Linked DNA regions of Homo sapiens: all the other regions are linked to region 3. Evidence: promoter capture Hi-C in 16 types of primary human blood cells and fetal thymus (Javierre and others, 2016). All regions are on one chromosome and are shown on one strand. The core of a region is centred on a gene start or on the middle of the fragment in contact, and the rest is flanking DNA. Distances in the headings are between cores, read along the strand shown. Region 1 overlaps ARHGEF9 (Cdc42 guanine nucleotide exchange factor 9). Region 2 overlaps ARHGEF9 (Cdc42 guanine nucleotide exchange factor 9). Region 3 holds the start of SPIN4 (spindlin family member 4).

Region 1 (3,988 bases), core at 1,078-3,577, 340 kb before region 3:
GATTTTGTATCCTGCAACTTTACTGAATTTGTTGATCATTTCCAGCATTTCGTGTGTGTAGGTAGTCTTTAGGTTTTTCTAAATATAAGATTATATCATCTGCTAACAAGGATAATTTGATTTCTTCCTTTTCAATATGGATACCCTTTATTTCATTCTCTTGCCTAAATTGCTCTGGCTAGAACATGCAGTACTACACTGAACATAAGTGGTAAAAGTGGGCATTCTTGTCTTGGTCTAGATCTTGGAGGAAAGGCTTTTGATTTTTTTCCTGTTCAGTATGATGATAGCTGTGGGTTTGTGATATATGGCTTTTATTATTTTGATGCATGTTCCTTCTGTACCCAGTTTGTTGTCTTTTTCTCATGGAGGGATCTTGAATTTTATGAAATGCTTTTTCAGCATCTATTGAAGTGATCATACAGGTTTTGTCCTTGGTTCTGTTAATGTAATGTATCACGTTTATTTATTTGCATATGTTGAACCAAACTTTTGTCCCTGGGATGAGACCCACTTGATCATCGTGAGTGATCTTTTTAATGTGTTGTTTAATTCAGTTTGCTAGTATTTTGTTTGGAATTTTTGCATCTATGTTTGCCAGTAATATTGGCCTGTAGTTTTCTTTTTTTGATGTGTTTTTGTCTGGTTTGGGTACCAGGGTAATGCTGGCCTCATAGAATGAGTTTGAAGTATTCCTCCTCTTTACTTTTTTGAAATAATTTGCATAGAATTATTATCAGTTCTTTTTTAAATGTTTGGTGGAATTCAGCAGTGAAACCGTAAGGTCCTTGGCTTTTCTTTGATGAGACACTTTTTATTACTGTTTTGATCTTGTTACTTGTTATTGGTTTGTTCAGGTTTTCTATTTATTCATGGTTCAATCTTGGTACGTCATATGTATCCAGGAATTTATCCATTTCTTCTAGGTTTTCCAATTTGTTTGCCTGTAGTTGTTCATATTCTCTGTAATGATCCTTTGTATTTTTGTGGTATCAGTTATATTCTCCCTTTTCACCTCTGATTTCATTTATTTGAGTATTCTTTTTTTCTTAGTCTAGCTAAAGATTTGTTGATTTTGAGTATCTTTTCAAAAAAAACAACTTTTCATTTCATTGATCTTTTGTATTTTTCAGCCTTAATTTCATTTATTTCTGCTCTGGTGTTTGTTATTTATTTCCTTCTACTAGCTTTGGGTTTGGTTTGTTCTTGCCTTCCTAATTCTTTGAAGTGACTTGGTAGATTATTTATTTGAAGACTTTCTTTTTCTTTTTTGATGAAAGCTTTTATTGCCATAAATTTTCCTCTTTGTACTGCTTTTGCTTTATTTCATAGGCTTTAGTATCTTGTGTTTTCATTTTCATTTGTTTTGAGAAATTTCTATTTTTTAAAAGAATTTTGTTATTTACCCACTGATCATTCAGGAGCAATGTATTTAATTTCGGTGTATTTGTACAGTTTCTTAAGTGCTCTTCTTACTGATTTCTAGTGTTGTTTCATTGTGGTCAGAAAAGACACTTGATATTAATTTGACTTTTTAAAATTTGTTGAGATTTGTTTATGGCCTAACATATGGCCTGTTTTCAAGAATGTTCTATATGCTGATGAGGAAAATGTGTAGTCTCCAGCAGTTGGATGATATGTTCTGTTATTTTCAGTTACGTACATTTGGTCTATAGTACAACTGAAATCCAGTATTTCTTTGTTGATATCTTGTCTGGATAATCTGTTCATTGCTGAAAGTGAGTGTTGAAGTTCCCTATTATTATGGTGTTGTAGTCTGTCTCTCTGTTTAAATCTACTAATATTTGTTGTGTATATTTGGGTGCTCCAGTGTTGGGTGCATGCGAATTTATAATTGTTATATCCTGTAGCTGAATTGACCCATTTATTATTATATAATGACATTCTTTGTCTTTTCTTACAGTTTTTGACCTGAAGTCTGTTTCGTATGATATATGTGTAGCCACTGCTGCTCTTTTGTGGTTTCTATTTGTACGCAGTATCTTTTTCCATCCCTTCACTTTTAGTCTCTATGTGTCTTATTCACTAGAAATTCACTTAAAGAAGTGAACTTCTTGAAGGCAGCATATAGTTGGATGCTGTTTTTTTTAATCCATTCAGCCACTCTCTTTTAATTGGAGAATTTAGTCCCATTTACATTCAATGTTATTTTTGAAAGGTAAGGACTTACTACTGCCATTTTGTTATTATTTTCTGATTGTTTTGTAACTCCTGTCTTCCATTATTTTACTACTATCTTCCTTTGTTGTTTAGTGATTTTTCTCTGGTGGCATGTATTAATTATTTGCTTTTGTTAGTGTATCTTTTACAGGTTTTTGCTTTGATGTTACTGTGGGGCTTAGAACATCTTATTATAAACTGATGACAACTTAACTTTGATCAAAAGAAAAATTAAAAACTAAAATCTCTAAAATTTAAGTCCATTACTTCCCCATTTTAACTTTTTGTTTTCTCAGTTTACATCTTTTTATATTGCCTATCCCTTAATAAATTGCCTTTTTGTTTTGTTTTGTTTTTGAGATGGAGTCTTGCTCTGTCTCCCAGGCTGGAGTGCAGTGGCACGATCTCGGCTCACTGCAACCTCTGCCTCCCGAGTTCAAGCGATTCTCCTATCTCAGCTTCCTGAGTAGGTGGGATTATAGGCACGTGCCATCACACTCAGCTAATTTTTGTATTTTTTAGTACAGATGGAGTTTCACCATGTTGGCCAGGCTGACCTTAATAAATTGTCATTATTTTTGATAGATTTTTTTCAGTCTTCATACTAAAGTTGTGAACGGTTTACACACCACAATTCAGTATTTGTCTGCATAGTTTATTCTGAATTTGTCTATATACGTTTACCAGTTTATTTTATAACTTCAGGTGTTTTCTTGATACATATTAGTGTTCTTTTAAGATTGAACAACTGGCTTCAGCAGTTCATGTAAGACAAATCTTCTGTTGATGAATTCCCTCAGCTTCTGTCTGGGAAAGTCTGTATCTCTCCTTCATGTTTGAAGGATGGCTCTGCTGGGCACAGTATGGGAGGTTTTTTTGTTGTTGTTGTTTTGTTTTTTTCATTCAGTACTTTGAATATGTTGCCCCCCTCCCTCCTGCCCTGTAGGACTTACACTGAAAACTCTGTTACCACAGGAATTGAAACTCCTTTATATGTTATTTGCTTCTTTTCTCTTGCTGCTTTTAAGATTTCCCTCTTTGTCTGTTAACCTTTGAGAGTTTGATTATTATATGCCTTAGGGTAATCTTATTTAGATTGAACATGTTTGGTTGTCTTTAACCCTGTACCTGGATATTTATATCTTTCTCTAGGTTTGGAAAAGTCTCTGTTATTATTACTTTGAATAAGCTTTCTACCTTTTGTTCTTTCTCAACATCCTCTTTAAAGCCAATGACCCTTTGACTTGCTCTTTTGAGGCTATCCCCTAGATCTTGTTGGCGTTCTTCATTTTTCTCATTATTTTTTCTCTTCTTATTGTGTATTTTCAAATAGTCTTAGGGCTCACCGGTTCTTTCTTCTGCTTGATCAATTCTGTTGTTGAGACCATCCCATGTATTTTTCAGTTTGACTATTGTATTTCTTAGCTCTAGGATTTCTGTTTAATTTTTTAAAATTTCAATTTCATTGTTAAATTTCTGTAATACATTTCTGAATTGCTTTTCTGTGTTACATTGGCATTTTCTGAGTTTCCTGAAAATTGCTATTCTGCATTCTTGATCTGAGAGCTCACACAACATCATCTCATTAGGGTCAGTCACTGGCTCCTTATTTTGTCTATTTGGGAATGTCATGGTTTCCTGTTTGCTCTTTCTATGGATATATGTCTGTGCATTTGCATTGAAGGATTAGTTCTTTATTCCAGTCTTCACTGTCTGGCTTGGTTTGGTCTTTCAGAAGTATGTCTGTCTAGAGGTTTTGTGCAGAGTGACTATTTAGTTCCCTTAGCCTGAGATCACTGCCTCCTTT
Region 2 (4,361 bases), core at 1,812-4,311, 410 kb before region 3:
GTTTATGTATGTACAGGGCTTCAAACAGTGCCTGACACAGAGTAAGCAGTTTGTAAGTGTTAACTATCATTATCATAATCTATTGAACTGCCTTTCAGATCTGAGAACTAGTGTGAATTTGAGGGCATTATTATCCCAGACCCTCTCATGGAGTGATTAGCTCCTCAGCCCTGGCTGTGGTAGAAGTAGTGACAACATCTGGCTCAAAGAGATGGAAGAACTTTCTACCATCTGAGATTGTCCCAAAGATGAAGGGGCTGTCTTGGGAGGGAGGAACTGCCCCATCATTATAGGTGTTGGAGCTGAGACCGGATAACCAATTAGTGGGGATGTTGCAGAAGGGATGGCAGGATGGAACTGGAGTTGTGCTAGACCAAGAGATTATCTAATTCCTTGAGACTTGTCAGCAAGAAGGAATAGATCTCGGGAGGGGTATTGCTACTCCAAATGTAGAGGACTCCATTAAAAAAAATTGTGAGCAAAGTTGATTGGTCACATAACTCAGAAAGCTACCCACACATGGACAGGGCTGGTATCAAATACCGTGTTCCAGGGTCTGAAATCTCTCAAAAGTACTTTTGAGACTTAAGATACAAGGGCTTTGGTTCCCACTCTGCCAGCAATTAGCTGTATAATCTTTGACAAGTTGCTTCCCTTCTCTGTGAACCTGGAATATAAGGGCTTAGATTTTTCTCTGTGGTTCCATCAGGTCCTGCCTTCTGTGGTTGGAAGATATGAGTCTTTGAGTGGAGACCAGTGGATGAAGGAGACATTCATGCATCCAATAGGTGTTTGTTATGAAGCACCTGCTAAGTGTCAGACACTGCGCTGGGCACAAAGGGAGAAAGCAGTGAACAAGACAGTCGTGGTCTCTGCCCTCCTAGCTTCACAGTCCAGTAAAGGATACAAACAAGAAAAAAATACAATACAGTTTAATAAATGTTTCAAGAGGGCTAAACGTAGGATCCTATGGGAGAGGACTATCATTCAGAATATTGTTGAGGAAGAGAACATTAGAGAAAGCCTTCTGGAGGTGGTGGCACCTCAGCTGAGCTTTGAAATGGGGAGCTGGAAAAATAAAGCAGCAGTTTATATAGGCCCTGAGGCAAGAGAACCTCATGAGTTATGAGAACTACTGTAGGTTCTATGTAGCTAGAGAACAGAGAATGAGAGGGCACTGGTAAGAGCTGAGGATACAGAGGCCGAAGGACATCAGATTGGCAGGACATTTTATGCCACACTACAGAATTTGCCTTAAATGCGCCGAGGAGCTATTGAAGGCCTTTGAACAGAGGCATTATATAAGTCAGGTTTCAGCTGCAAAAATAAACCACTGTAGTTCTTTTCAGCAGAAGGAGTTTTAATATAGAAAATAAAGTGCTTACAAAATTGGTGGGAGGGCTGGAGGGGCAAGCTTTAGGCTATGCCTCCAAGAACAGTGTCAGGGTAGCTGCTCTCTCTGACAAGCAGGAAGATGAGGCGTCAGGGGCTCTAGGAGCATGCTGCCTTGTCTGCAATTTAGGAATGAGGAAGCTGCCACAGCTCTAACCATCTGTTGGCTAGAGTATCACTATGCCTACCAGATCCTCAGTGACAAAAAAAAAAAAAAAAAGTCCCATTCTCTGGCTCTCAGAATGCACAAAGCCAATGGCTAGACACTGGAACCTACGGTAACACACACAAAAAAACCCCAACACTTTCACCATTGTGCTTTCCAACAGAAGCAACAGAGACATGACTTCTGGCTCACCAACCACCTCCTTCTAAATACTGTGCATGTGCATATGATTGGCATCACTATGTCATATCCAGAACGCTGGCTGCAAAGGAATCTTGGAAATGCCAGTTTATTGTTGTTGTAGTTTTTTTGGTTTTTAGCTTTTCAGCAATATAGGAAGGCAGGCTAGAAGGAGTGGATCCTTAAAAACCAATCCAGAGTATCTACCCAAGATTGACAAGAGCAAAACTGCTTTTGAGGAAAGAATTTGGGCAGAAGAGTAGAGGCTTAATTGGGGAGGGAGAGCAGCATAAGATAACTGGTAATGAATTGTGATGGATCAGAGATGATGAGGAACTGATTAAAAGTAGTGACAGCAGGAAGAGAGAAAGGGACAAATGAGAGAGATTAAGGAGGAAGAGGATCAACAGAACTAAAAGACTTGTTGGCCACCAGTGAGGTGAGGGAGAGAAAAAACTTGTAGATATTTTCTTGGTTTCTGGCAAGCTCAGTGTGTGACTGCCATTCCCAGGAGACAAAGGACTCAGGGGAAGAAGGAAACCAGCAAGAGTGGGAGGAGATGACTTCAATTTGGGACTTTTTAAGTTTGATATGCTTGTGAGATACTAAGGAGGAGATATCCAGAAAGCAGTAGAACTTTCATTCTGGGGTCCAGGAGAGCTACCTTGGAGTCATCAGCAGCTCTCTGCTTACGTGCAAGCAAGGTCCTATGTCTGTTTTGTTTCCCAGTGGTGGTGTAATTTTGTAGAAAGGAGGTGCATCAATGTGCAATGTAGATGGTAGTTCAAGCCTTGGAAGTAGATGAGCCCATTCAGTGCAAATGCAGAATGAGAAGAAAAGGGGACTGCAATCAGAAGAACTCAGAAATCATGGCATTAATGACTGGATGAAGAAGAACCCATGCAGGAAGTGAAGACAGCATAAACATACAGGTCATGTGGATGGTGTTCCCAAGGAAAAGGAGCATTTCAGGATTGAGGAAGGCATCAGTGGAGTCAAATGGGAGAAAAGTTACGAAAGGTAAAGATTGAAAGTTGGCCATGAGATTTAGTAACAAGTTGGTTGTTTTTTTTCCTATTCACAAGAGGTTTCAGTTTTCTATAGGACAATGAGGGTAAAGCCAGGATGCAGTGGGTTGAGGGGTCAAAAGATAATGAGGAAATAGAGACAGGATAAGACTGAACTTTCAAAGACTAGGAGAAAGACTGTAGTTGTTTATATTATGGTACTGTCCTGATCACCAGTATCTGTCTCAACATAATCTAGAAGAGTAGTTTTCAAACCGTTTTGACTATTACTTGCTATAAGAAACACATTTCACATTACAGGCCAGTACATTTATATTTATATATAACTGAAACAAAAGCATCATGAAACAGTATTTACGCTAACTATATGAACATTTTCTATAAATGGAATCTTACAAAAGCCTTTTTCTCACGTCTTTCACTTAGCATGTTTTCAAAGCTCATCTATGTTGTAGCATGTATCAGTAGTTCATTCCTTTTTATGGTTAAATAATACTTCATTGTATGTATATACCACATTTTGTTTACCCATTCATCAGTTGTTGGACATTTGAATTGTTTCCATCTTCTGGCTATTGTGAATAATGCTGTTATAAGCATTCATGTATAAGTTTTTGTGTTGGCATGTTTTCATTTTTCTTAGGTATATACCTATCTGTTCAGTCATATAATCCTATAATATAAGAGCAAAAAGGCTCTGAGAGATCTCCTGTATAAGGGAATCCTTGGTTTGAAGGCCCAGGGAACCACTGAAATTGTTTTTTTCTGAGGTGAGTGTTCTGAGGTTTAACTGAATTCTCAGATAAGTCTAAGTCCTCATTGACAGGAGGGAGACAGAAGACAGACCCCTGAGAGGAAAAGGGAATTGCCCAAAAGTCATACAGCAAGTTTGAGGTAGGGCTGAGAGTAAATTTGAAACCTTCTGGTCTCCACTCCATGGCTTTTCCCTCCTTAGCTCTAGATACCAGGTCACAGAGCAGGGCAATGATTAGAAGCAGATTGCAAGTTCTGTAGAGGATTTTCCATGGCGAATGTTTAACCCTATGCTGGCTTCCCTTCATAGTACCCAGAATGCTGGAAAATTGCAAGCTAACTGTCCTAGTCTGAAGAATCTATAATCAAGAAAGGAAATCTGACCAGGTAAGGGCAGTGGTATCAGGGAAAGCCAAATAGAATTGGATTTTGGAAATTCTGTCGTGTGTCCCTGTGATTCTGTCCACAACACTGGTTTGTTGGCTTTTTATAGCTAATTGTGGGTTGCCTGTAAATTCTTAGGCAGTGGCCAAAAGCACCTTTGCTTCCTCCTTGGCCCAGGCTCCAAACAAAGTGGCTGCTAGGCACATGCATTCTCCACAGCTACCTATCCGTTTTTCCCCCATTCCTTCTTTCTCCTCACCATCCTTTTTTCTGCCTTTCCCCACAATTCTCTTTCTTCATTATCTTCCCTCTCTTCTCCTTCCTCCTCGTCTTTTCTTCTTTTTCTCCCTCTTCACGTGATCTCCTCCCCTTGCATCCTATTGGGTCCCTTCCCTCCCTCTTTCCCAGTCCTTTTCCTCCCCATCTCCTTATATACCCCCTCTATCCGCCCCCAAGAA
Region 3 (4,198 bases), core at 188-2,687:
GGAAACATGGTGAACTGGAGGATCCTTACACATTCTGTGTGACCAGCTATTAAACAGAATGAGGACTAGGTCTCTCTGTCACTGACTTGGAAGGTAATGAAATGTTCAGGCAACCAGTATTGACACCTTGCAGCTTTTGCCCCGGTTTTGTTTCCAGGTGAATTAATTGCCTTTTTTACTCATGATTATATGACGCTTTCTCTTTTCACCAGTGAAGAGTAGAGGAATGAAAATGAGAACCCTAGACTCTTCTGGATTTTAATGTCATCTTGTAAGTGGGATATAGTGTTAAAAGCTTTACAGACATTCTCATTTAATCCTCATAGCAGCTCTGTGACTTAAGGTAAGTGAAATTATGGACACTTTCTTTTCTTGCAGGTTTTCGATATAAGCATGCAGCACTTTTATAATCAGAAAAACAGCAAATATATACACAAAAAATCCCTTCTTTCTCTCTCTACAAAATTAAGACCACAATATTGTTTCAATATTTTGCTTTTTCATTGTACTCATCTCATGTGCAGCTCTCCATGTCATTAAATCTTCTTTTAAAAAATGGTTTAGACAATAAATCCATTTATGAAGGTAAAATGTTTTTATTTATACTTATGTTATAGATCATGTAGGATAAATAGTGGACTATCAAAAGGAATATTACAAATATTTAATATTACTATTAAAAATCATGTTTTCAGAGTATTTAACAATCTTGGAAAATGTTCATGATATACATGAAAAACACAAGTTATAAAAGTATGAAATATGCTCCCAATTTTATAAAATATAAGTACAGGTTTATTAATAGGAGAGAAAACAGTATTGTTAACATTTTGGTGCAGTCTGGATGGTAAAATTAATGGTAGTTTCGTCTTTTATTTCACTGAATTTTAGAAGATCTCCACAATGTCAGTACATGACCTTTACATTCTGACAAAAAAAAAAAAAATAAAAATAATTACTAGAAATGATCAGGTAGAAAATATAAAACAGATTTTGGATTAAGATGGTGGTCTGTAAATTGTACACAGGGTTTTTATTCTCATCTTAAATATCTTAAACTGAAAGAAAATAATTTGTATGCACAAACTCTTTCTGGGTGTGCGTGTGTTTTACATTTTTTTTTTTTTTAAGTGAGGAATTCCTGGAAGACAGAAAGCAGATGGAGCCACTGTGTAGGAGGCTGGCGGGCAGCAGACCGCCAGAAAGGAGGAGGAGGGGAGTCGGCCTGTCTGGCTGGCGTTTGAGGGAAACGGTCGAGGGGCGGAGGAGGAAATGAAAGAGAGGGCGCGTGTGTCAATACAAACTGAACACGGGCACGCGCGCTGACCAGCCCGGCTGCCGCCCGCAGAGCGGAAGGCGGGATGGCTGGGGGCGGGGCCAAGGCTCAGGCGGGCTCAGAGGGGGCGGGTTCCCTGCGCCGCAAAGACCCGGTCGCCAGAGTGAAGCCAAGCCAGCTAGCGCTGCGAAGCCCAGGCCGCGCGGACTCCCCAGAGACTTGCCGCCGCCTGCGCCTTTGCCGCTGCAGCCATCCCTCTTACTCCTTGCCTTTCGTCCCCGTCGTCTCCTCTGCCGCCGTGCCGCAGCCGCACCAGCATCGACAACAGCTAAGTGGCCGATTCGGGGACTTGGGGTCGGGGTTGGGGCGGACGCAAGGCACGAACAGCACTCGCGAGCCCGCCATCTCTACGTCAGCCGCCACTGCTGCAGTAACCCTTCTAGGGCGAGAGAGGAAAGCACTGTGGAGAGGCACACGCTGTCCCAGTGCTCACGGTTAGAGTTCGAGCGTTTCTGCCAAAACCTTGGTGAGAGCCTTGCACTTGGAGAAGGGAGCACAGACCAGGTCTTTGAGATCGCAAAAAATATATATATCATATTGCATAGTGTTGACTTTTTGTCAGTTTAATCGACCAGGGCAGCAGCTTTCCCCAAGCCCTCTTAATCCCTGAGCTATGTCTCCTCCAACCGTGCCTCCGATGGGGGTAGATGGCGTGTCCGCATACCTGATGAAGAAAAGGCACACCCACAGGAAGCAACGGCGCAAGCCCACTTTCCTCACTCGTAGGAACATCGTGGGCTGCCGCATTCAACACGGCTGGAAGGAAGGCAACGAGCCAGTGGAGCAGTGGAAGGGTACTGTGCTCGAGCAGGTTTCCGTGAAGCCCACTCTTTACATCATTAAATATGATGGCAAAGATAGTGTGTATGGACTAGAACTGCACCGCGATAAGAGAGTTTTAGCGCTAGAGATCCTTCCTGAGAGAGTGCCAACTCCTCGTATCGATTCACGACTGGCAGATTCCCTGATTGGCAAGGCAGTGGAGCATGTGTTTGAAGGTGAACATGGTACCAAGGATGAATGGAAGGGTATGGTCCTGGCGCGAGCTCCTGTGATGGATACTTGGTTTTACATCACCTACGAGAAAGATCCTGTTCTCTATATGTACACGCTGCTTGATGACTACAAAGATGGTGACTTACGCATTATTCCAGATTCCAACTACTATTTCCCTACAGCAGAACAGGAGCCTGGAGAGGTGGTCGACAGTCTCGTGGGCAAGCAGGTGGAGCATGCCAAAGATGACGGGTCCAAGAGAACTGGCATTTTTATACATCAAGTGGTGGCGAAGCCATCTGTTTACTTCATTAAGTTTGATGATGATATTCACATTTATGTCTATGGTTTGGTGAAAACTCCTTAAATTCTTTGTGCTCTTTAGAGAAGTTGTGGATCTGTTAGATGTGAATTATTTTGTGTTCTCGTAGTTGTGAACGCAGAGAAGAGTTTAGGTGTCAGAAATTCAGGAAAGTGGATAAATTTTATTGTGCCAACAAATCTTACCTTGACTAGTTTCACAATTTTGCCTCAAGTGTACTTTGCTACTTTTGATATTGCCTTGTTCTGTAACTTAACAGTTAAATTGGGTGCTAATAGAAAATTAAAAAGTGTTTGCAACCATTGGAACAATGCAAAAATAGATTAAGAAAAATTAATGGTGTAAACCCACACCCCGTCCTTACCCCTTCCTTTCCTTACCTTGTTTCTTCCCAGAAAACAAGTGTTGAGGATGCGAAGTACATCCTTCCACCTATTTTCCCCATCTTCATGCAGAAAGTATGTTCTAGTAGTTTCTGTAAAAATGGCAAGCCACATGCTTTTCTCACTTGACATGTAGATGATATCTCTTCTTATCAGTAGCTTCAGTCTTTCTTGCTCTCTCTGGCTCTCTCTGGCCCTCACTCTTACTCTCTTGCACTCTTGCTCTCCCCCTCCCTCCCTTACTCTAACAGCTGAATACACAGTACTTGTTGATGTACCAAAAAGGCATTCAACCATTTCGTTATTGATCGTCTTTTATTTCCTTTTTTTATTTTTTTTCAAAATAACACTGCTGTAATACATACTGGTGCTTTTATTTATATAGGTTGGATTCCCAGAAATACTATGTAGGCATATGTTTCAGAAATATTACAAGATTACTATCCAAAATGAAAGCGCCCGTTCCAGCGTCCTCTCCAGCACTCTTTAATGCTTGAAAATATGAAAGGCTAAAAATTGCATTGTATTGCTTGTTAGTTTAATTGCCTTTTGTCTGAGTTCAAAGAGGTTTGTTGTTGTTGCTGTCCTTGTTTCTGTTTGGATTTTTCTCTGATTTGCCTGTTCTTACCCTTTGCTCATGTATCTATTGATGTTTTTCATTATAAATTTGTAGAAATTCTTACTACATAGTGCATATTAATCATTTGTAGCTCTAATGTGTTATGACGTTTTCATCTTGACTTTATTGATGATATATTTTCCTTTAAAATTTTTAAACTTTTTAGGTAGACCCTTATCTCTTTTATAGATTTTGGTTTCCTTTTTTTATCACATGGATGCCCCCACCCAAAGTCATACAAATATTCACCTACATTTTCTTCTAATAACTTTATTATTTTTAATGTTTAAATGTTTGATCCATCTGAAATTTATTTTTGTATATGGTGTAAGATGGGGATCCAGCTATAACATTTTGTTCACATTGGATACCTGATTGTGACATTTATTTAAAATGTTACCCATTTTCAAATTTCTGAGCCAATATCATGATTTAATTATAGTGGCTTCATCGTAAGTTTTAGAATCCGATAAAGCAAGTCCCACTTCATTAGTTTTTTTTTTCTTTATATAATATGTCCTAGACATTCATTTTTTCATGTG

Evidence for each region. The method cuts DNA at HindIII sites, captures the fragments that hold promoters and counts their contacts. A CHiCAGO score of 5 or more calls a contact.
Region 1: a contact is called between a fragment that was not itself captured here and the fragment with the promoter of SPIN4 in region 3, in 1 of 17 cell types (M2 macrophages). The highest score is 6.1, in M2 macrophages.
Region 2: a contact is called between a fragment that was not itself captured here and the fragment with the promoter of SPIN4 in region 3, in 1 of 17 cell types (monocytes). The highest score is 6.2, in monocytes.

The regions. Positions count from the first base shown.
Region 1 is chrX:63,687,320-63,691,307 of GRCh38, reverse strand. All of the region lies in intron 4 of ARHGEF9 (Cdc42 guanine nucleotide exchange factor 9), which reads left to right. Among named protein-coding and RNA genes, the nearest start is that of ARHGEF9-IT1, 18 kb to the right of the region's middle. The HindIII fragment of the contact is 2,090 bases long and covers 1,283-3,372 here.
Region 2 is chrX:63,755,379-63,759,739 of GRCh38, reverse strand. All of the region lies in intron 1 of ARHGEF9 (Cdc42 guanine nucleotide exchange factor 9), which reads left to right. Among named protein-coding and RNA genes, the nearest start is that of ARHGEF9, 28 kb to the left of the region's middle. The HindIII fragment of the contact is 3,289 bases long and covers 1,417-4,361 here.
Region 3 is chrX:63,348,571-63,352,768 of GRCh38, reverse strand. It overlaps SPIN4 (spindlin family member 4), which reads left to right and starts at 1,437. Exons shown (of 1, transcript NM_001012968.3): 1 at 1,437-4,198. The coding sequence starts at 1,950. The coding sequence ends at 2,699. SPIN4-AS1 (SPIN4 antisense RNA 1) reads right to left here. Exons shown (of 3, transcript NR_046739.1): 2 at 3,035-3,129; 3 at 581-927. RefSeq lists a silencer at 1,219-1,448 and enhancers at 1,649-1,698, 1,969-2,018, 2,119-2,248. The HindIII fragment of the contact is 10,204 bases long and covers 298-4,198 here.